3 separate regions of the Homo sapiens genome follow, and regions 1 and 2 are each linked to region 3. The links are contacts of gene promoters, found by promoter capture Hi-C in blood cells and fetal thymus (Javierre and others, 2016). All regions are on one chromosome and are shown on one strand. The core of a region is centred on a gene start or on the middle of the fragment in contact, and the rest is flanking DNA. Distances in the headings are between cores, read along the strand shown. Region 1 has its middle 71 kb from the start of NEUROD2. Region 2 overlaps CDC6 (cell division cycle 6). Region 3 holds the start of CSF3 (colony stimulating factor 3).

Region 1 (4,562 bases), core at 1,228-3,727, 480 kb after region 3:
TTTCAAATTGCCACCTGCCTTGAACTTGGCACTGAATCTCCCCAAGATTACAAATTCAGTTTCATGACTTCAAAGTGTTACAAAACAAAACAAAAAAACAAGTACAGTCACCAAAGGAATTTATCTCCTTCATTCATGGTAGATAAATACTATTCTCTTTGAAGACATTTTAGGATGAGAAGCTCCATTTTGTTTCCTATTTGTACAATTAATCCCACATTCTCAGGTCATGACTTGATTTTCCAAAATGAAAATCAATTCCAGAGCCAAGAGTAATCTTGGTCCCTATCAGTCCTAACTCTTATCAACATGTTTTGGAAGGTCTCTAGGAATGGAGAAGTTATTTATGAGTCGCTTTCAACAGTTTGGCAAATACTTCCTTAGATTAACCTCACTCTCAAATGCTGACTCTTTACTTCCTCTAGTTTAGCCCTGTGTGGTTAGAGAGAAAAACGTGGTCTACCACTCCCTTTTATCTCCTACATATTGCTCAGGATACTAGCCTTATGTATGTATGTATGTATGTATGTATGTATGTATGTATGTATGTATGTATTTATTTGAGATGGAGTCTCATTCTGTCGCCTAGGCTGGAGTGAAGTGGCGCAATCTTCACTCACTGCAACCTCCACCTCCTGGGTTCAAGCAAATTCTCCTGCCTCAGCCTCCCGGGAAGCTGGGACTACAGGCTTGTGCCACCACGCCTGGCTAATTTTTTGTATTTTTAGTAGAGATGGGGTTTCACCGTGTAAGCCAGAATGGTCTCGATCTCCTGACCTCGTGATCCACCCACCTTGGCCTCCCAAAGTGCTGGGATTACAGGCGTGAGCCACCGCTCCCAGGTAGCCGGGGTTTGCCATTTATTCATTCTATCCCTTAGCCTCAAGGTGCTAATCAATCAAGATAAAAACAAAGCACTTAGGCAGCGCCTGACACATAGCAGGTACCCAACAATGTTAGTTCCCTTTCTCTCCCTTCTTTCTCGCAACACCATACATGTTCCTCGGCCTTTCTGGGCATTTTTTACTGGTTAAAGATGGTACTGAACCAAACAAACTAATCTTCTTTTGTAGCTCTAACATTCTGTGACTCTAATTCGCATATTCTCGTTTGTTCTTCTATGCACTGCCATCATTTGGATCTAAAATGAGTGGCAGAGGAATACTACTAGTCTCTAGGTTGACTTAGCATACCTAAAACCACTTGCAGGAGTTTTGAAATTCAAACAATACAAATAACTGTTTAATGTGATGCATCCATGTCATTCCTCCTTATTCTTGAATTACTCTCTTGAACTATGTAGATAACAGTGTTAAGTAAATGTCCTTACATATTGCTTAACATATTTGCCCATCTTTTCTAGTTTCCCTACAGAAAATGTCTTCATAGTATCCTAGGGGTTCTTGGCCCATCCTCCAACCCTAAAGGTAAGACTACTGTAATTAAGGGGAATTCTTTACTCAGTATTGGTGCTTTAATGGGGTCTTCCTGAAATGAACTGTGAATCTCTAAGAAAATTATCCTATAAATTTCACTAACTCAACCATAATTTTTCCTTCCATCCTGTATCCCTCTCTTCTTTATAAGCAATTATATCCAAGCTGGGCGCGGTGGCTCACTTTGGGAGGCCGAGCACTTTGGGAGGCCGAGGCGGGTGGATCACAAGGTCAGGAGTTCAAGACCAGCCTGGCCAGCATGGTGAAACCCTGTCACTACTAAAAATACAAAAAATTAGCTGGGCATGGTGGCACGCACCTGTAATCCCAGCTACTTGGGAGGCTGAGACAGGAGAATTGCTGGAACCTGGGAGGTGGAGGCTGCAGTGAGCCGAGATCACACCACTGCACTCCAAGAAGAGCAAGTCCATCTCAAAAATAAATAAATAAATAAATAAATAAATAAATAAATAAATAAAAATAAGGAATTATACCCCAAGTCTCTTTCTGCAGCCCAGCTACCAGACTCTTCTAGTTCTCCCTTCTTACCCTTATTTCCACCTCTTATATTGCTTCATTTTCTGAGACTTTTGGTCCCCTAACAGAAATTATAAATATTAACACTAGTATAAGGCCAAACTAAAAAGTTCCAGACTTTAAAAAAGGGACCAGGCTACTAAGCTTTCTTTAGGTCTTTGAATTCAGCCTGTTTTCTCCAGGTCCAAATGCATTCAAAATTGCATTAGCCTTGGTGAGGAGGGTCATCTACAAGCTGATCCTCACCAAGGGTGTCCCTCATTAGGCACTATTGTAGTTCTGAGACTGAGGAGGGAGAAGGATCCCCTCCTAGAGAGTCCATCAGATAGGCCCCTTAGGTAGAGAAAAGACATCCTCCAAGACTCAGACTTTGTTCTTTACTTAGCTCTGACTGCTATATGGTGGACTTCTTAAAGGTTTCTTCATGCTGCCTCCCTCAGGGTTGGTTTGGCCTGGATAAAATGCCCTTCATTCCTTTAGAGCTGTCAATACTATCTGTAGTTTACAAACATGCCAGAGCAAGATATCAAAAAGTCCATCCATTTACAGGTCCTAGAGAACCTGGGTCTAAGTAAATTTATTTCATGGCTATACCTTCTTATTCCACAGAAGTATGCTGTAGCTGAAGGTTGCAAATTGAGAATGGTCCACTAACAAACTACCCACTTAGAGGGTATGAAAGACAAACTCAGTATCAGTCTCTTTCTCTCAGCCTTGGAGTACTAATTTTTTGAGATAAGAGATATGAGAGAAATCCAGTGGTCAAAGTGTTTTGGCACCCCAGTGATTAATCACCAGGACATTAAAGCAACTCTTATCTGCTTTCTCTTAGATACCAGAGAGCCCTCTTCTCACCAAGCTTTACTTCCCACAGACACCATCTGCAACTGAGCTTAGAAATGTCATCAGCAAAAGCAACAATCTCAGGATATGGAAGAAGAGGATAAAAAGGTGAAGGTTGAAAGAGGGGAAGCAGGAAGACAGAAAGATGACTCCCTGCCTTTCCTGGCCAGGGTACAAAATAATCTTTTGTACCCTACATAACACAAATGAAAAGCTCCTTTCATAGCTCCTAGCAATAAGAAAGTATGGTTAGTTTACTTTCTCCTTCACTTTCCACTACAGTAGGTTGAGGATCCAGATAGACATTTGTCTTCTGAATTGACTCTCATTACCTTTCAAAACAATGAAATAGCAGTAACTCTAAATACCTGGTAGGGTTAAGCAATCAATACCGATGGTAGGCCTAAATTATTCCAGTTGAATGGTGAGTGGGGAGAAAGAGAAATAGGGAAAAGAAGTGGGTGGATAGGAGATGGAGAGACAGTTGCGTACAGTAAGGAGTACCACCAGTAATTCCTTCAGGTGTCGTACTCCCCCAGTCTTTCAACTCTGGCTTGGAGTAATCTCCTACTTGAGAGAATTCCTAATTAGGAACACTGGAGGTGTTCCTACAGATAAGAACTGTCACACCTGGACAGTAAAATTAACCAAAGTGTCCAGGAATGCTCACCTTGCCTCTCAGGACAACCAGAAGACTCAGCAGTTCCACCTCTCCCTTGGAATGGTTGAGTGCTTCCTCCCTTGAGGAATTCCCCATTCCCATTCCACTTAGCCCTTATGGATGATTAGGATATGAAAAGTCACTCCATAGTTAAAAAACAGTCAAGCTATGAGGCAATCTTTAATAACAATGGAAATCCCAAGATCAGCACCAAGAGCATTAACTGTTTACTTCTTTGAGGCATTAACCATACAGTTAAGGATGCCTATCTAGGAAAGAACAGTGCCTAAGAAATTGAGGTACTGAACAGCATGGTTTCTGGTTAGAAATGGCCTTGGGTATGACAGAAAAATCTAGGTTAGTAAGGTCCTCAGCCTTTAGGCCCAGAATTGAAAAGACACTGCTTCAATTTTCACTGCTATGAAGTGAAAACAGTATTTTCTAGTAGGTTGAAGTTTATACCCCAATCATGAACTTGCAACCAGGAACACATAATTCCAGAAATTGGAACAATCTTGAGCTCTCCATTCTCCTTATAAGATGTGACTTAGCCCACAGGAAAGGGAACACCACTTAAACTTTTGAGGATTCAAAAACAGGTTAGCAACTCTCATCATCACCAGTTTTTGAACTCAACTTCCTTCTAATTTCCCTTGCTCTGGTGTATCCCTTAACCTTCCTGTATGACTTGCTCACCCCATTTACAACTTCAGATACCTATCGCCCTTCTTTCTTTCTCCTAGTGGACTTTATCTGCCCTCTGCCCATTTGTCATAACTAGCAGGATTGCAGCACATACCACAGGGGCAAATTTATCCTGTGTTCTAAGCCATGAAAGAGAAGGGGAAGCAATTCTGTCTTCAGGTGGAGATGGGAAAGATTTTGGAAACAATAGAGATTTTAACTTTTAAACAACTTTTTGATTCACTTTCTGGATTGGCAACGCATCGGGAAATCTCAGCAAAGGTAGGTACACTAATCCCCATGCTGACTCTGCATGTAATAACATGGGAACTGAGGTAGGGTGGGTGGTGAAGTCTGGTTTAAGACTATCCTTTGGGTCTAAACAGCCTCTTACCAACTTC
Region 2 (4,472 bases), core at 1,505-4,004, 290 kb before region 3:
ACAGAAAACTCTATTTCCAAAACCAGGGGAAAGGGAAAGATAGAGGGGAAAGAAATTTGGCCCCTTTGAATCTACCAATGTGATTTTGGCTGGAAGCCAGGGAGGATACATAGCAGCCCCACTGCGAGTCAAGCCATGTTCCTGACTCAAGCCCTACAGTTAAGAGGAAGGCGCCAAGCCTCAAACACAATGAGGTGGGGAGGCTGCTCCTTATTGGGCAGGATCCTACTGTGGACACAGAACAGACAGCAGCTGCCCACAGTGTGGAAACAAACTGTAAAGCAGTCACGTCTCTTAAGGCTGCAGCATCCAATAAAATGTAATTTAAATCAAGCTTCGCATCTGTTCTCAATCCCATTCAGTCTCTGCTTTCCATCAGCCTTCGGACAATCTTTGCAATTATGCATGTTAACCCTTATAGTCCCAGACACTTTCCAACCTTCTAGGTATAGAACTGTGTTTCCATGTTCAAACTACCTTCAGAGGGAACGAATACTCTAGTAAAGGAGTGTGAGAACAACATTCAGACTCATGCCTACAGACTATCATGTGCTACACACACCAGTGGGTAGTGTTCATTTCAGAGGGCTCTCTCTGCTTTCCTTGCCTCTATCCCATACCACCTGTTGTAGCTCAGATCACATTACACGGATACAGTGGTCAGGATGAATGAAACAGTGGCCAACAGATCACTTGTACACATATCAAGTTCCAAATGGAAGGCCATGTCAGAAAGGTAGAGGCGGCAGCAGGAGAGCTCAGGGAAAAGCAGACTTGGTCACTGGCTCTCAGATCATTCGTATCACACATGGTTTACATTTCAAGCATTTGCTTCAGTTATGAAAGGACAGCAATCTCCCAAACAAATCAAACTAGAACTTCCCCCTTTCCCTCAAAACTACCTCAGCCTCAAGCATCCCCTTTCAAAGTAGTCAATGTTATAAGGGTGCCCTCTGGTGTCTCAGTCACAAATTGCCATTTAATGCCACCAAACCAAACCCAGAAGGCTCTTGATTAACCAACCATATGGACTAATTTATCTAATAAGACTGGAAAAATGTGTTTAGATGAAAACCCAACCCCAAAGTAGTCATCTTGAAACAAGTGGCTTCATCTAAGGGCAGCAAAGACTGTGGGACAGCCTAGGAAGGAATTTTCACATTGACTTCTGAAAGCTTGAGCTCTCTTGAAATCTGATTGCTTAAAAAGACAAAGAATGCAACTTGAAAATAAATATATTCACAATCTGTAGAGTTATAGTCTCCTTATGACCCCAACGCCCTTGGGAGTGCCCAAGAAACTCAACGAGTCTAAAATGCCACAATGTTGTAGTATCTGCACCATGAACATAGTATACTATACAAAGAAATAAATTCTTTAACCAGTGTCCTCCAAATCTCCATGTGGACTTGCTTGCATTTTTCTGGATCATTTTCATTCTTCTTACCCTAAACTTAAAGTTCTTAACAAAATACCTTAATGGCTGAGCATGGTGGCTCACGCCTATAATCCCAGCACTTAGGGAGGCCAAGGTGGGCAGATCACTTGAGGGTCAGGAGTTCAAGACCAGCCTGGCCAACATGGTAAAACCCTGTCTCTACTAAAAATTAAAAAATTAGCTGGGCGCGGTGGTGGGCACCTGTAATCCCAGCTACTCGGGAGGCTGAGGCAAGAGAATCACTTCAACCTGGGAAGCGGGTGCTGTAGTGAGCAGAGAACGCGCCATTGCACTCCAGCCTGGGCAACAGGGTGAGACGCGCCTCAAAAACAACAACAACAAAAAAAACAAACAAAAAAATACCCACTCATGTTTGAGCAAACGAAGAGGTAAATATACACACATTCCTCTACACAGATCTGTACACTTGCAAGCACATTGGCTAGAGATACACAAGTGGTAGAAGTAGTGAATGTAATTAAAAAGGGTCTACCTGGTCACTTTTATGGGTAAAAATAGTAAGACCCAAAGATATTATTCTGTGCTAATATTAAAGAATCTATAGATTAAAATTCATTGGCTTCAAGTAAAAAAGGTCATATTTGTTTTCAGGCCCGAATGTGTAAAGCACTAAAATGAAGACTGTAGCTCTCTAAATGCCAGCTGAATACTTTCGGGTGGGGTGTAAGAGAAGAATTTAAGGCAATCCAGTAGCTAAGATATTTCCAATTAAAGCTTTATCTTTCAGAGCATGTTCTATTTCTTTCTCTTCAATCTTGAAAAACACCTGGAAAGAAGAGAAAAGGATTTTTCACACTGGGGAACTCACAAAAGCAAAGTTGTCAGTATACAAACTTCTACCATATTAAACTTTTTCTCACAAAAGGCAAGCAAGTTAAACACTTTTTTTTCCAATGGCTTGAAAAAATATTCATATCACACTCCCATCTTTACACACCTTAAACCTTACCTAACAAAAAACGACTTGTTTAACTAACTGTGGTCATCTTGTTTAACAATAAACCTTTACTTTAGCATCACTCTACAAAATAGGACAATTAAAAACACTGTCACAAAAAAGCAGTTGTACCTTTGTCAAACGGGTTTCCTTGTTTCTCTTTAATCCTAAAATGCCCCTGGCTTCCAAGAGCCCTGAAAGTGACAAACACTCTGACTGGTCCACAGCCGCCACCTGCTGTTTGCGACAGACTTTACTGTAGGCTTCATATAACTGGTAGGAAACAAGGGAGAACAAACGCTGCTTAAAAGTCACATTGCTTATAGCCTTTAATCATTTAAGAAACCTGAGTCTGGGTTTGCAAAAACTTATCTGAATACCCTATTTCTTCCTCTTTTCAATAAAATCTTTGAACAGGCTTCTGTAGATATTCCCGAAAACCTATACAGTAATGTAGGAAAGGGGCTTTATATATTTCCTAGAGAGATGCAGAAATGAAGGGGAGGATAGGGAAAGGATTAATGATAAACTCTCAACCACAATCCAAGGGAAATAGGTGCCTTTTATATAGTACCAGTATTAATTCTTACTGTTAAAATCCATTTTAAATTTATTATCAGCTGAAGTATCATAGGCCTTTTGGAAAATACCTGCTCTGCAAAGCAGATTCTGATCTCTACCTCCGTTCCATCTGCTCCATCCCAACTTACCTTCCCCAGAGTGACCTCTTTGATTTTCAACTGCCTGATCAAGAGCATCAAAGAGCAAACCAAGATCTTCTGCTGAAGAGGGAAGGAATCTTGTGCTCCTTCTTGGCTCAAGGTCATCCTGTTACCATCAACTTCTGAGATGACTTGGGATATGTGAATAAGACCAACCCTCTTGGGAATCAGAGGCTCAGAAGGTGATTTACCTATAAAGTAAATAAGCCAAGCTTAATTCGATTTCTAAAATACTGTGTGTGTGTATGTATGATGAGACAGATGATACTAAGTTTGAGCTAAAGGAAATTCAAGTATAGTCACATGGTGGCAAAGCAGAGGTTTTAAATCTCTAACCAGAGGCCAAAGGATGAGAGATAATGCTATTCTCTTAAGGATGTCAAAATAATGTGGGATGACTTGAAAAGTAGGGTTACCCTTTCTCTGGGCCAAATAGTGAGCTGTTTTGTCCTATGGAATGTAATTTAATGTCAGAGGAACAAAACCCACCTCATGAAAGGACCAGAGAACTACTGTATTTTTTTTTGGGACAGGATCTCTGTCACTCAGGCTGGAGTACAGTGGCACTATCATGGCTCACTGCAGCCTTGGCTTCCTGGGTTCAAGTGATCCTCCTGCCTCAGCCTCCTGTGTAGCTAGGATTACAGGTACGTGCCACCATGCCAGGCTAGTTCCTAGTATCTCAGAGGTATAGAATAACAGAACCTTGAAGCAAAGATGGTGACTGTGCTTGGTAATTAAGAAAGGAAAAAAAAGGCCAGGTGCAGTGGCTCACGCCTGTAATCCCAGCACTTTGGGAGATCAAGGCGGGCAGATCACCTGAGGTCAGGAGTTGGAGACCAGCCTGCCCAACACGGCGAAACTCCATCTCTACTAAAAATACAAAAAATTAGCTGGATGTGGTGGCAGGCGCCTGTAATCCCAGCTACTTGGGAGGTTGAGGCAGAAGAATCACTTGAACCCGGGAGGCAGAGGTGCAGTGAGCCAAGATTGTGCCACTGCACTCCAGCCTGGACGACAAGAGTGAAACTCCATATAAAAAAAAAAGAAAGGGAAAAAAAAGTTGGAAAATTACCGAATATTTTGGATCAAATGAGTGGCTAAATGTGGAGAGTGAAGTCGCTGCCATGTCAGCCCTTCAGATGGCTTCCCCAAATGACCTTTGAGGTTTGGTTCACTTGCCCAAGCTGATTAGCAGTAGAGCAACACTTGAGAAAATGTCATTGGATATGCTAGCAGATAGCACCATCTTTTTTTTTTTTTTTTTCTTTTTGGTATTTTTTGTAGAGATGGGGTTTCATCATGTTGCCCAGGCTGGTCTTGAACTCCTTAGCTCAAAGCAATCTGCCCTCCT
Region 3 (4,238 bases), core at 883-3,382:
GTGTCCCGAGGCCACCCAGAAAAACAGGAGACGCGTCGGTGATGTTCGGGAGTCAAACCATGTCCCAAAAGTCTTAAGAAGAAAAACGAGATTCCCCAGCAAATTCGTGGGACCCCAGGGCCATGCCTCCCAGCTCTGGCCACCTCTGCTTGTCCAGGGGCCTCACAGCCAAGGGGATGCAGGGGCCGCTGTGCAGTCGGCTGAGGCCAGAGTGAGGGGTGCAAGGACCCAGATGGGGAACACTGCTGTTTAAATATTAAACAGGGATTTCTTGTCTCCCACGTGGGAGACCTGATACTCTCAAGGGTCCCAGGTGGGGACCCTCAGGACCAGGGGCTCACAGCGGCTCATCCCAGTGCCCATTGCAGAGCCAGGGCTGGGGAGCAGTCATAGTAATAAATACTTGGTATTTACCTATCTACCTCCCAGTCCAGGGGATGGGAGGACAGGAGCTTTTTCTCACTGCTACAGGCAGGAGAATGAAACTCAGAAATGCAGGGAAGGACACAGAGGCCTGGGGCTCCGTTCTGCTCTTCCCTGTCTTTAAATATGAGGCTTAAATAGACATAAATATTAAATAGAGATAAATACATGGGATGGGGAGGGCTTGGCTCAGGGCTGGGCAAGGTGGCGTAGAACGCGGTACGACACCTCCAGGAAGCTCTGCAGATGGGAGGCAACCAGGACCCCTCCTGCCCGGCGCTGGAAAGCAGAGGCGAAGGCCGGCATGGCACCCTGGGTGGGCTGCAGGGCAGGGGCCATTCCCAGTTCTTCCATCTGTGGGGGAAAGCTGTGATCAGTGGTTGGGCCCTTCTGAGTGGGCGTTATTACAAATGAGGAAATGCTGGGGGTGACAGCATGGACAGGGCCCATACACAGGCCTGGCTGTGGTGCCCAGAATGCCAGCACGACCTTGGCCACCCTGCCCAACAAGGCTCACCTGCTGCCAGATGGTGGTGGCAAAGTCGGCGACGTCCAGCTGCAGTGTGTCCAAGGTGGGACCCAACTCGGGGGAGATCCCTTCCAGGGCCTGCAGGAGCCCCTGGTAGAGGAAAAGGCCGCTATGGAGTTGGCTCAAGCAGCCTGCCTGTGAGACAGAGCGGAAGAGTTAGGGGGTGCTGCCTGAGATACGTCAGGCCCCCAGCTTGGAACCTGGAGACATGGGGGAGCCCATGGGTGTTCCTCCTCTCCTTCCCCCTCCTCATTAGCCTTATCCTTTCCTGACACTCACCAGCTGCAGGGCCTGGCTGGGGCAGCTGCTCAGGGGAGCCCAGGGGATGCCCAGAGAGTGTCCGAGCAGCACCAGCTCCTCGGGGTGGCACAGCTTGTAGGTGGCACACTGGGGATGGAAGGATGCTGAGTGAGACTCGCCATGGCCGGGTCGCCGCTCCTTCCCGGGTCCTCCCCGACTCTCTGGTCTTTCCCCTCCCTCCATGTCCTGCCAGGCTGTTCAGTTCCTCTCTGCCCTGCACCCCCACTCTCTGATCTCACAGGGGCCCTTGCCCTTTCTCCTGAATGTAATGCCTCCACTCCCATCCCAGCCAGCCCTCCCGAGCACTGTCCCCACCAAGGTCCTCCTCCCCAAGTCCCTTCCCAGCCTTCCCCAGCTCCACTGCTCCTAATATTCTCCCACGTCCCTTCCAGAGGATGTTGGCCCTGCAGTTCCATCCCCCTTAGCTCTCCCCACCGGGCTTCCCTCCACAGCCCTCTCACCCACCTCACTCACCAGCTTCTCCTGGAGCGCTGCGCCATCGCCCTGGATCTTCCTCACTTGCTCTAAGCACTTGAGCAGGAAGCTCTGGGGCAGGGAGCTGGCAGGGCCCAGGGGGGTGGCTTCCTGCACTGTCCAGAGTGCACTGTGCCACAGCAGCAGCTGCAGGGCTGGGGACAGAGCGGGCTCAGGAGACATGCTGTTCCCTACCACCTGAGGCCCTCTCGGGGACACTGGGTGCCTTTAATCCCCATTCCCAGAACGGGGATCCCCAGCCCCTCTGTCACACCAGCCTCCCTCCCATGCCAGGGCAGGCGGCTCTCCCATCCTGGGCCAAGACACTCACCCATCAGCTTCATGGGGCTCTGGGTGGCAGGTCCAGCCATGGGTCTGGGTGGGGCTGGGCTGCAGGCTCCGGGCTGTTTTGGGGCCCAGCTCTAGGGGGGCCTTTATACATAACCCCATGGAGGCCTGGGAGGAAATTACCTGGGGCCACGACTAAGGCTTAGTAATAACTTCCCAGGATTTATGCAAATTTGGTGTCCAAGACAATGCAGGGGGGTTGGAACAAAAAGCTGTTTGCGAAAGTTTTGTGAAATTGTGGAATCTCTGATCCTCCTTTGACGTCGCCTTGCCCCCCTCAAACTCCCTTCCTCCCGCTGCCCCACCCAGGCCTGAATGGCCCCAGAGTGTTTGAACAGAACAGCTGAACAAAGGCTGAGCCGCTGATAGACGCCTGGAAGCGGCAGCAGCCTGTGGGGAAGTGGCAGCTGAGTCGGGGTCTCCCTCTCTGCTCTGGCAGACTTGCGGGGGCAGTGTCCTTTGCCCCTCTCCTTTGGGATTCTCAAGCCTGTCCCCCAAGCCCCCAAATTCTAAGAGAGAAAAAAAGAAGCTGGTTGCTCCCATTCCTACCCCCAAACTCTCCGGAGGCTGCCTGTCTGGGAGACCTCCTGAGCCCCTACCTGAGATAAGGACATTGGGTCTTGGCTGCTGTGCCCACCCCACACTTGGATAGGCACCATCGAAAGTTCCAGGCTGTCCTGTCCCAAGTTGATTAGCTGGGAACTCCCCCAGAAACCCCCCCGCCCCCCATGACTCATTCGGCTAAAGCCCCTAGAATCCCGGTAGAGCCAGAGGAAACCGGATGTCTGTCCCGAATGAGGCAAGACCCTTCGAGGCGATTGGCTCACCTGACCTTCACCTCCTCGTGCACGACCCTGACAGTAGGGTCCCCAAGGGCTTTGGAACTGCGGGATTGGGACACGTGACTTCCCTGGTCATTCACCTTGAAGTGGACACGGGCTGGGGTGAGAGAGGGGAAACTGCCCCATCTTCTCATCTTAGAACCATGCAGCGTTAATGCTGGAAGGGACCTTGGAGTCGATTCCAACCCCGTGAACTGGGCCAGGGAAGGAAGTGCCTTGCCCAAGGTCATGGTAAGTGACAGAATTACAGCCTGGGCCTCTGGCTCAGACCTGAACGTTTTCTTTTTCTTTTCCAGATGGAGTCTTGCTCTGTCGCCCAGGCTGGAGTGCAGTGGCGCGATCTCGGCTCACTGCAAACTCTGCCTCTCGGGTTCACGCCATTCTCCTGCCTCAGCCTCCCGAGTAGCTGGAACTACAGGTGCCCGCCACCATGCCCGGCCAATTTTTTGTATTTTTAGTAGAGACGGGGTTTCACCGTGTTAGCCAGGATGGTCACGATCTCCTGACCTCGTGATCCACCCGCCTCGGCCTCCCAAAGTGCTGGGATTACAGGCGTGAGCCACCGTGCCCGGCCTAGGCCTGAACGTTTTCTACAGGCCACAAGGCCTGCCTGGGGCAGTCTGACTGACCACACCCAAGACTGTCACCTTCTGTCCTAATTTACCCCAGCGTGCCAAGAAACAGACATCTCTGGATGAGAAGTGGATGTGGTGACTGGATGGGGCCATCTCTGGTGCTTGGGGGCCCCCTGGTGGTCACCAATGGCAGGGACGTCTGATCTCACACACTGATCTCACACACTGTTATCTGGTCCGCGGTCCTGCAGCTCCGCCTTAGCTCTGTGGCTCAGCACCTTGCACTGATGTGGCCCAGCTCTGTACCCAGCTCCCTGGGAGTAGAGGGTGGGTTTTTGTTGTTGTTTTTTTGAGATGGAGTTTCGCTCATTGCTCAGGCTGGAGTGCAATGGCACGATCTCGGCTCACTACAACCTCCGCCTCCCTGGTTCTAGTGATTTTCCTGCCTCAGCCTCCCAAGTAGGTGGGATTACAGGCATGCACCACCATGCTCATCTAATTTTGTATTTTTAGTAGAGGTGGGATTTCACCATGTTGGTGGTCAGGCTGGTCTCGAACTCCTGACCTCAGGTGATCCACCCGCCTCGGCCTCCCAAAGTGCTGGGATTATAGGCATGAGCCACTGCACCTGGCCTTGAGGGTGGGTTTTTAACAGGACCATGGAAGGCAGGAGCTCCACATTCTTAAACATGTTGCCTGGCAACTATTGCATTGCACACCTCTTATATGTCAGGCACTTTTTTTTTT

The links. The method cuts DNA at HindIII sites, captures the fragments that hold promoters and counts their contacts. A CHiCAGO score of 5 or more calls a contact.
Region 1: a contact is called between a fragment that was not itself captured here and the fragment with the promoter of CSF3 in region 3, in 1 of 17 cell types (total B cells). The highest score is 7.0, in total B cells.
Region 2: a contact is called between a fragment that was not itself captured here and the fragment with the promoter of CSF3 in region 3, in 1 of 17 cell types (erythroblasts). The highest score is 5.1, in erythroblasts.

The regions. Positions count from the first base shown.
Region 1 is chr17:39,534,899-39,539,460 of GRCh38, reverse strand. It overlaps a transcript of CDK12 not described here. Among named protein-coding and RNA genes, the nearest start is that of NEUROD2, 71 kb to the left of the region's middle. The HindIII fragment of the contact is 715 bases long and covers 2,120-2,834 here.
Region 2 is chr17:40,299,665-40,304,136 of GRCh38, reverse strand. CDC6 (cell division cycle 6) reads right to left here. Exons shown (of 12, transcript NM_001254.4): 10 at 3,107-3,309; 11 at 2,529-2,669; 12 at 1-2,225. The coding sequence ends at 2,136. Among named protein-coding and RNA genes, the nearest start is that of RARA, 7.3 kb to the left of the region's middle. The HindIII fragment of the contact is 1,157 bases long and covers 2,176-3,332 here.
Region 3 is chr17:40,013,334-40,017,571 of GRCh38, reverse strand. CSF3 (colony stimulating factor 3) reads right to left here and starts at 2,132. Exons shown (of 5, transcript NM_172219.3): 1 at 2,058-2,132; 2 at 1,727-1,881; 3 at 1,232-1,339; 4 at 941-1,087; 5 at 1-777. The coding sequence starts at 2,097. The coding sequence ends at 613. PSMD3-AS1 (PSMD3 antisense RNA 1) reads left to right here and starts at 2,931. Exons shown (of 3, transcript NR_198981.1): 1 at 2,931-3,018; 2 at 3,213-3,334. RefSeq lists an enhancer at 1,723-2,222. The HindIII fragment of the contact is 16,036 bases long and covers 1-4,238 here.